Linked DNA regions of Homo sapiens: region 2 is linked to region 1. The links are contacts of gene promoters, found by promoter capture Hi-C in blood cells and fetal thymus (Javierre and others, 2016). All regions are on one chromosome and are shown on one strand. Each heading gives the region's core, a stretch centred on a gene start or on the middle of the fragment in contact. The rest is flanking DNA. Distances are from core to core; before and after follow the strand shown.

The links. The method cuts DNA at HindIII sites, captures the fragments that hold promoters and counts their contacts. A CHiCAGO score of 5 or more calls a contact.
Region 2: the fragment with the promoter of PSEN2 here is called in contact with a fragment that was not itself captured in region 1 in 1 of 17 cell types (endothelial precursors); the score reaches 5.2 in endothelial precursors.

What each region holds. Positions count from the first base shown.
Region 1 is chr1:227,455,423-227,459,271 of GRCh38, reverse strand. No RefSeq gene overlaps it. Among named protein-coding and RNA genes, the nearest start is that of LINC01641, 64 kb to the right of the region's middle. The HindIII fragment of the contact is 2,964 bases long and covers 164-3,127 here.
Region 2 is chr1:226,867,658-226,872,067 of GRCh38, reverse strand. PSEN2 (presenilin 2) reads right to left here and starts at 1,452. Exons shown (of 13, transcript NM_000447.3): 1 at 1,419-1,452; 2 at 664-806. It overlaps LOC105373119 (a long non-coding RNA gene), which reads left to right and starts at 1,518. Exons shown (of 3, transcript XR_949226.4): 1 at 1,518-1,706. RefSeq lists silencers at 990-1,039, 1,050-1,649. The HindIII fragment of the contact is 3,629 bases long and covers 774-4,402 here.

The DNA.
Region 1 (3,849 bases), core at 396-2,895:
AGCATTCAGTTGGAGAGAGATCTGCATGAAGAAAAGGGCTCAACTATTTATGCCATGCACTGGATCAGGGGCTGCATAATGTGGTGCAACAGAGATGCCACTAAGGGTCAGACACTCCACCATCGGGCTCTGTCCTCTGTGATTGACAGAAGCTCCAAAAGCTTGTCATTGTGGGAGCTGCAATATCCTGGGTCCTTGGCTCTTCAGTCTACTTTCCATGTTTGTGCTATCTGCCTCCTAATCTTTCTCAGATAACTCATACATTTACAGTTTCCCCAGCTCTACCCACAGACATTAATTTTCAGAAAAAGGTCTGAGCAAACACCAAGTAAGAGTGACAGCCTCTAGCATTAACTGTCCTTAAGGTGGTTGTTTTTTACCTGGCAAAAATTCTTAGCTAAGCCCAGGACGCTTTAGAGCAGGGGTTCTAAGTTTTTGTAACTCTTTTTTTTTCTTTTTTTTTGAGACGGATTCTCACTCTGTTGTCCAGGCTGGAGTGCAGTGGTGTGATCTCAGCTCACTGCAACCTCCACCTCCCAGGTTCAAGCAATTCTCCAGCCTCAGCCTCCCAAGTAGCTGGGATTACAGGCACCTGCCACCACGCCCAGCTAATTTTTGTAGTTTTAGTAGAGATGGGATTTCACTGTGTTGGCCAGGCTGGTCTAGAACTCCTGACCTCAGGTGATCCACCCACCTCAGCCTCCCAAAGTCCTGGGATTACAGGCACGAGCCACTGTGCCTGGCCAATTTTTTGGAACTTTTGAATATTTTGTGGTAACTGCATTTATTATTTTGTAAATAACTATACAATTTGTAAAGGCCAGTTTTGGTGGAAAAACAATTAAAATAAGGATGGAAATTATTACACATGCTGGAAATGGCTAATCTTTGTCCTCAAACAAATGTTTATTGGCTGTAAACAAACTTATTATATGTTAGTTCTGAAAGAAAAAAACATAATGAAATAACTTGTGCAAAATGCTGGAGATACATCTTCAAAGATTTTTGTCTAACAATTAAGGAAGAAATGAAGATTACATGTAAATTATAAACTGAGAATTAAACAAATGCATTGACACACATGCCAAGTCTTTGGAATTATTGATAAGAATACAGCTTATTACAGATCCTTTCATCAAGAGAAGATACTGGGGTTTGATTTTCCTTTGACAACATTTTCAAAAAAGTTGATGGTACAAAACCATCAAAGTCACCATCACTATCTCCTGCTGAAACCCCAGCCAAATCTTCACCCCACCCCACTTAGTCACTTGCAAAAATCACTCAACATTAAAACCAAGTTCTTACACATCATTCAGGTAAGAGAGATAATTAGAAATTGAGGAAAGAAAGAAATCGCTTTAGAGTAATAAGGAATTGGCCAGGCACCTTGGCTCACGCCTGTAATCCCAGCACTTTGGGAGGCCAAGGCAGGTGGACCACGAGGTCAGGAGTTTGAGACTAGCCTGGCCAACATGGTGAAACCCCATCTCTACTAAAAATACAAAAATTAGCTGGTGACAGTGGCAGGCGCCTGTAATCCCAGCTACTTGGGAGGTTGAGGCAGGAGAATCGCTTGAACAAGAGCGAAACTCCATCTCAAAAAAAAAAAAAAAAAAATAGCCAAGCATGGTGCACACCTGTAATCCCAGCTACTTGGGAGGCTGAGGCAGAATTGCTTGACCCCAGGAGGTGGAGGTTGCAGTGAGCCAGGATCACACTATTGCACTCCAGCCTGGGCAACAGAGCAAGGCTCCATCTCAGAAAAAAAATAAAGAAAGAAAGAATAATAAGGAGTTGGCTCGTGCCTGTGGTCCCAGCTACTCTGGAGGCTGAGACAGGAGGATCACTTGGGCCAGAGAGATCACAGCTACAGTGAGCTATGATCGTGCCTGTGAATAGCCACTGCACTCCAGCCTGGGTGACATAGCAAGACACTGTCTGAAAAAAAAGAATAAGAAGGAGCTTTGTAGGTAAATTAGAACAGACTTGTATTTGAGACCTTGCCTTCACTGCTGCCATGAAGTAGGGCATGGAGGGACCCTCAAGGAGGAAAAGCAGAGATCTCCAACCCCAACCCTATTCTATTTTGAATTGTCTGATGAATTGGGATGATTCCAACCAAGGTCCACTGGCATTTAAGAACACTAAAAATACCAGAGGGAGACTCACCTGAGTGAAAGAGGAGTCCAGTCAGTTGACCTGATTGCAAATGTGGGCAGAGAGGGGACAAGAAAATACAGTAAGTTTCCTGTCTCCTTTATATGGGGCTGGGTGCTGGGAATAATGAAGGTCATAGAGGTGGTGGTGTGCAGGCAGAGGCAGACACATTTTTGATGGAGTAATTGGTGAGGTCCTCCCTGGAGACTGAGATCTAAATGATGAGGCAAAGAATGGGGGCAGGAGAATGCAAGACTGAGGGAATGAGGACCTGAGTCTTTTTTTTTTTTTTTTTTTTTTTTGAGACAGAGTTTCAGAGTTTCACTCTTGTTGCCCAGGCTGGAGCACAGTGGCGCGCTCACTGCAATTTCCACCTCTTGGGTTCAAGCGATTCTCCTGCCTCAGCCTCCTGAGTAGCTGGGATTACAGGTGCCCACTACCACCCCCGACTAATTTTTTGTAATTTTGGTAGAGACAGGGTTCCATCATGTTGGCCAGGCTGGTCTGGAACTCCACCTCAGGTGACCCACCCACCGCAGCCTCCCAAAGTGCAGGAATTACAGGCACGAGCCACCATGCCCGGCCAGAGGCCCTGAGGCTTTAAATGGCTTAGTGTGGTTGAGGAGATGAAAGAAGACCACTTGATAGAACACAGATGAAGAAGGAGGAGAGCACAGATTGGAAAAATGGGCAGGGGCCACCTCACACCAGCCTCTAAGGTGTGGTTAGGAGTTCACTCTTTGCTTTAAGAACAATGAAAGCCCTGAAAGGTTTTAAGCAAGGGTATGACTTGGTCGGATCACTCTGGATGTTCTCAAGAGAAGGGACTAGAGAGAAGATGGGAGCTTTGAGGTCCATTAGAGGCGAGGCTGCTGCAATGGAAGAGCTGGATAAAGCGTTCTTGGAAATTCTGAAGGAGGATGGCCCGAAGAGGAAAACACTGGATTTCTGCTAATAAAATCAAGCTTGATGGGATTAGGTGGGGCGGCTCAATGCCAAGAATTTAAGACCAGCCTGGGCAACATAGCGAAACCCCAGTATTTACAAAAAATAAAAATTATCTGGGTGCGTTGGTGCGTGCCTGTAGTCCCAGCTACTTTGGATGCTGAAGTGGGAGAATCACTTGATCCTAGGAGTTGGAGGCTGCAGTGGAATGATTGCACCACTGCCTAAAATGAAAGAAATAAAAAGTTGGGGCTCAGAAAATTCATCAAAAAATAAAAGGGGCTGGGTGCGGCAGCTCACACCTGTAATCCCAGCACTTTGGGAGGCTGAAGCAGGTGGATCACTTGAAGTCAGGAGTTCGAGACCAGCCTGGCCAACATGGTGAAACCCATCTCAACCAAAAAATACAAAAATTAGCCAGGCGTGGTGGTGCGGGCCTGTAGTCCCAGCTACTCAGGAGGCTGAGGCATGAGAATTGCTTGAGCCCCAGAGGCAGAGGCTACAGTGAGCCGAGATTTCACCACTGCACTCCAGCCTGGGCAACAGGGTGAGACCCTGTCTGAAAAACAAACAAATAAATAAAAGGGATACATGCATGTTGGTGAGGCAAGTCATATTTGTTATTCCTGTAGACAGGTGCTTTCTAGCCATAGTTGAACTAGGGTAGTTGCATCACTAGACTTTCAGGGCCATTTTTTTCTCTATAAAGAACTTCTTTAGCGTGAAGGAAATTATTTCCTCCAG
Region 2 (4,410 bases), core at 203-2,702, 590 kb after region 1:
TGTGAACATGCTGGACTCAAGACTTGGCACATGGGCACTTCAACACCAAAGGGTACAGAGTTTTCCCCAAAAACCTGATACATCCATCCCACTTCAAAGCAACATGCCCCCAAGCCCTCACTCCAGTCTCTGCCCTGGAACCCAAGGCTCAACGTGGGCGTCGTGAGGACGCAGCTCTGAGGTGGGGCCAAGAACCAGGCCCCTTCTGCACCTGCGCCAGTCACCGGCTGCCCACAACCACATTCAGGAGAGAAGAACCTGAGGCTCACACACCTGAAGCAGCTTATCCCGAGACTCCAATTACCGCCAAAGGTCTTGGCTGAAGGCCTTGGAGGCTCAGGTGTCTGCAGAATTGGCTACAGAGGCATCAGAGGCTTCCTTACTGGAAGCTGGGGTCGGTCCTAATCAAGTTACTTCGTAGACAGCCTTGGCAACCCCAGGCTGTCGCTTCTGAGTTAAGTTAGTCTACAATCGTCTCTATGGAATGCTCTCAGGTTCTCCATTTGTAAATAGGGATGCAGTTACTTCACTCAACACCGTTCATACCTTTCAAAGGGAATACTTATTAAGGCAATAAACAGGGGTGAGGTCTGCTCGGAGGGATGGACAGCAGATCTAGAAGCCAGGACACTGGGGTCGAAGCCTGGCTCTGCTATATCGTACCTGGGCGACCTTGGGAAAAGTCACTTTAGCTCTGTGGCCTCAGTTTCTTCATCAGTAAAATTCAGAGGGGGGACTAGCTTCTGTCTCAGGTTCCTTCAGCTCCAAAAGCTTGCTTCTGGCTGTCTCCTCACTGCTGGAAATGCCTGATAAAACAGCCAAACACCGCTGCTAACAGAAACCGGCTCTAGGCTTGAGCCTGCGGCCCTGCCCCTCACGTGCGGGCAGAGCCCCCGCGCGCCTCCTTCCCGGGGAAAGCATGCCCAGGACCCGGTGCTAGAGGCCGAATGGACTCGGCGCAACGGAGGTCTCCGGCGAGAGAGAAGAAGAACAAAACGCCCCCGCCTGCTACACGCCTCAGAGACCCACGTGCACCGCTCCTTTAAATGCACCGGCCCTTTAACCGCTCGCGCCGCGCCCACCCCCAGCCGGGGCTCGGCGGCAGGCGGGCGCAGGGAAGTGGGGACGCAGTGAGGCCGAAGGCCTGAGGGCCGCTCCCCGCGATCCTTCCACGACCCAGTTCCGGGCCGGCCCAGCCGCCGCCTGCCGGGCACTCTCCTCTCTCCGCCCCCGCGCTGGCCGCAGAGGCCAGGAGCGCTGCGCACGCAGGGGCCGCAGACCCACAGCCGGGGAAGGGACCGTGGCCAGAGGCGTGCGGAGGGCAGGGCAGGGCCCTCAGGGCGCAGCCCCACCCCGGGCCCTCAGCGCCGCAGGCGACAGGGCCCTGGCCTGGGCACCCCCCGGCACCGCCCGCTCACCTGCTCTGCCGCCGCGCTCCAGCGGAGTTTACGCAGCTGGCTGAGCGCCCGGCCGGACCCGGCGCCGGCCCAGGCCCCGCCCCACGCCCGCCCAGGCCACGCCCGGTGGGCGACGCCGCGTTCCCTCGTCCACTGGGGCCCCACCTGGAGTCCCGGGCGCGCGGGGAGGGTGGCCTTCACGCCGCGTGGATGACAGGGTCATCCCGACGTCGGAACTAAGCGACGACCTTAGAAGGAGTGGAGGCCGGGCCTGTCATCTTCCTGCGGGCCTGGCAGCAGCGTGGGGCGGTAGGACATAGGCTTCGAGGACACTCTTTCTTGTAGTTTTGGGTCCACATCCCCTCCTCCTCCCGGTTGTTCTCACATTAAAGGAGCACTAATGGCCCAATGTGAGCTAACACCATGAGAATGTTCCTGGTCTGTTCCCTAGGGCGCTTCAGAGCCACCAGGAGCTCTGCATAAAATTGAACAGGAATAAATTGCTGCCTGACCTGAGAATTGGCCTAGGGGGTTGTGGTTCCAGGATTTGGGGTCTGTGGGGTAGGTTGAGATTGTCAATAATTTGGCGTTGTCTGAGTAGTTTTACTTTTTTTTTTTTAACTTAAGGTGAAATTCACATAACATAAAATTTACCATTTTAAAGTGGGCATTTCAGTGGCATTTAGTGAATTCACAATGCTGTGCAACCACCACCTCTGTCTAGTTCCAAAACATTTTCCTCATTCCGAAAGAAAAACCCCATACCCATTGAGAAGTTTCTTCCCAATGCCCTCTTCCCCCCCAGCCCCTGGCAATTACCAGTCTACTTCTGTCTCTATATTTACTTACTTTAGATACTTCATATAAACGGAATCACAGTGTGTGGACTTTTGTGTCTTTCACTTAGCATGTTTTCGAGGTTCATCCTCAGGTAGCATGTAACAGACTTTATTCCTTTTTATGACTGAATAGTGTTTGTGTGTGTATATGTATATGTGTGTGCGTGTGTGTGTGTGTATCATGTATGCCACAGTTTATTCATCTATGGACATTGGGGCTGTTTGCATCTTTTGGCTTTGTGAATAATGCTACCATGAACATGCATGTACATGTATTTGTTTGAGAGCCCATTTTTATTTGGGGAGGGTACATACATAGGGGTTGAATTGTTGGATCGCATGGTAATTCAATTTTTTTTTTTTTTTGAGACAGAGCCTTGCTCTGTTGCCCAGCCTAGAGTGCAGTGGCCGCAATCTTGGCTCACTGCAACCTCTGCCTCCCAGGTTCGAGCAATTATCTTGCCTCGGCCTCCTGAGTAGCTGGAGTTACAGGTGTGTGCCACCACATCTGGCTAATTTTTGTATTTTTAGTAGAGATGGGGTTTCCCCATGTTGGCCAGGCTGGTCTTGATCCTGAACTCAAGTTATCTGCCTGCCTTGGCCTCCCACAGTGCTGGATTATAGGCATGAGCCACCGTGCCCAGCCTTCAGTGTTTAACTATTTGGGGAACCCCAAGTGGTTTCCACGATGGCTGAACCATTTTATATTCCTACCAGCAATGTACAGGATCCCAATTTCTCCACATCCTCACCAACACTTGTTATTTTCCATTTTATTGTTATCCTAGTAGGTGTGCAGCGGTACCTCATTCTGGTTTTGGTTTACATTTTCCTAATAACTAATGCTATTAAGCATTCTCCTTTTCATGTGTTTGTTGGCCATCTGTATATCTTCTTTGGAGACATGCCTATTCAAGTCCTTTGCCCATTTTAAAATTGGGTTGTCTTTTTGTTGTTGGGTTGTAAGAGTTCTTTATATATTCTGGACACTAGACCCTTATCAGATATATGCTTTGCAAATATTTCTCTCCCATTCTGTAATTGTCTTTTTCACTTTCTGATGTCCTTTCATGCACATAAAACTTTAATTTTGATGAACTTCAGCTTAACTGTTTTTTCTTTTGTTGTTTGTGCATTTGGTGTCCTGTGTGAGATATCATTGTCAAATCCAAGGTTGTGAAGATTTACTCCTGTGTTTTCTTCTAAGAGTTTTATAGTTTTAGCTCCTATATTTAGGTTGTTGATCCATTTTAAGATAATTTTTGTATGTAGTGTGAGGTTAGGGTCCAAGTTCATTGTTTTGCATGTGGACTTCTAGTTGTCCCAGCACCATTCGTTGAAGAGATTGTCCTTTTCCTATTGAATTGTCTTGGCTTCTTGTCAAAAATCAATTGGCCATAGATGGATGGGGAAAACCAAATATTTTCAAAGAGCTGTTTAAATGCAGATTAACCCTGGATGGAACTGGGGCAGGCCAGCATTTTGGCTAAGAAAATAATGGTCCAAATAATGATCTTTGATAAATTTGAGAAATTAATTACATTTAACAGAATTATAAAAATAATCGATTCTTGGAAAAGGAAGGACACCTGAAGGTCACAAAGTCCAACTCTAACTGATGCATATGAGCCCTTGCTACAGAATTCCTGGGAAATAACTCCCCAACCTGGTTTGTTGTTGTTGTTGTTTTGAAACAGGGTCTTGCTTTTTCGCCCAGGCTGGAGTGCAGTGGCACGATCTCAGATCACTGCAACCTCTGCCTCCCAAGTTCAAGTGATTCTCTTGCCTCAGCCTCCCAAGTTAGCTGGAATTACAGGTATGTGCCACCCTGCCCAGCTAATTTTTGTAATTTTAGTAGAGAGGGGGTTTTTGCCATGTTGACCAGGGTGGTCTCGAATTCCTGACCTGAAGTGACCCTCCCGCTTCGGTCTCCTGAAGTGCTGGGATTAGATTACAGGCATGAGCCACCGCGCCCATCCCTGATTGGTTGTTGTTGTGTTGTTGTTATTTAGCTTTCAGTGTTGCACTTGATAGGCTGAATTTCCCCTAATGTGAAGAGGCTGCATATGCCCTAAGGTGAAGCATAATGACTCAATAAATGAGTTAGGAAGTTGTGATATAATAAAAATAAATATTTGGTCTTTATCCCCGTTCCTGGCACAAGCTTCTAAAAC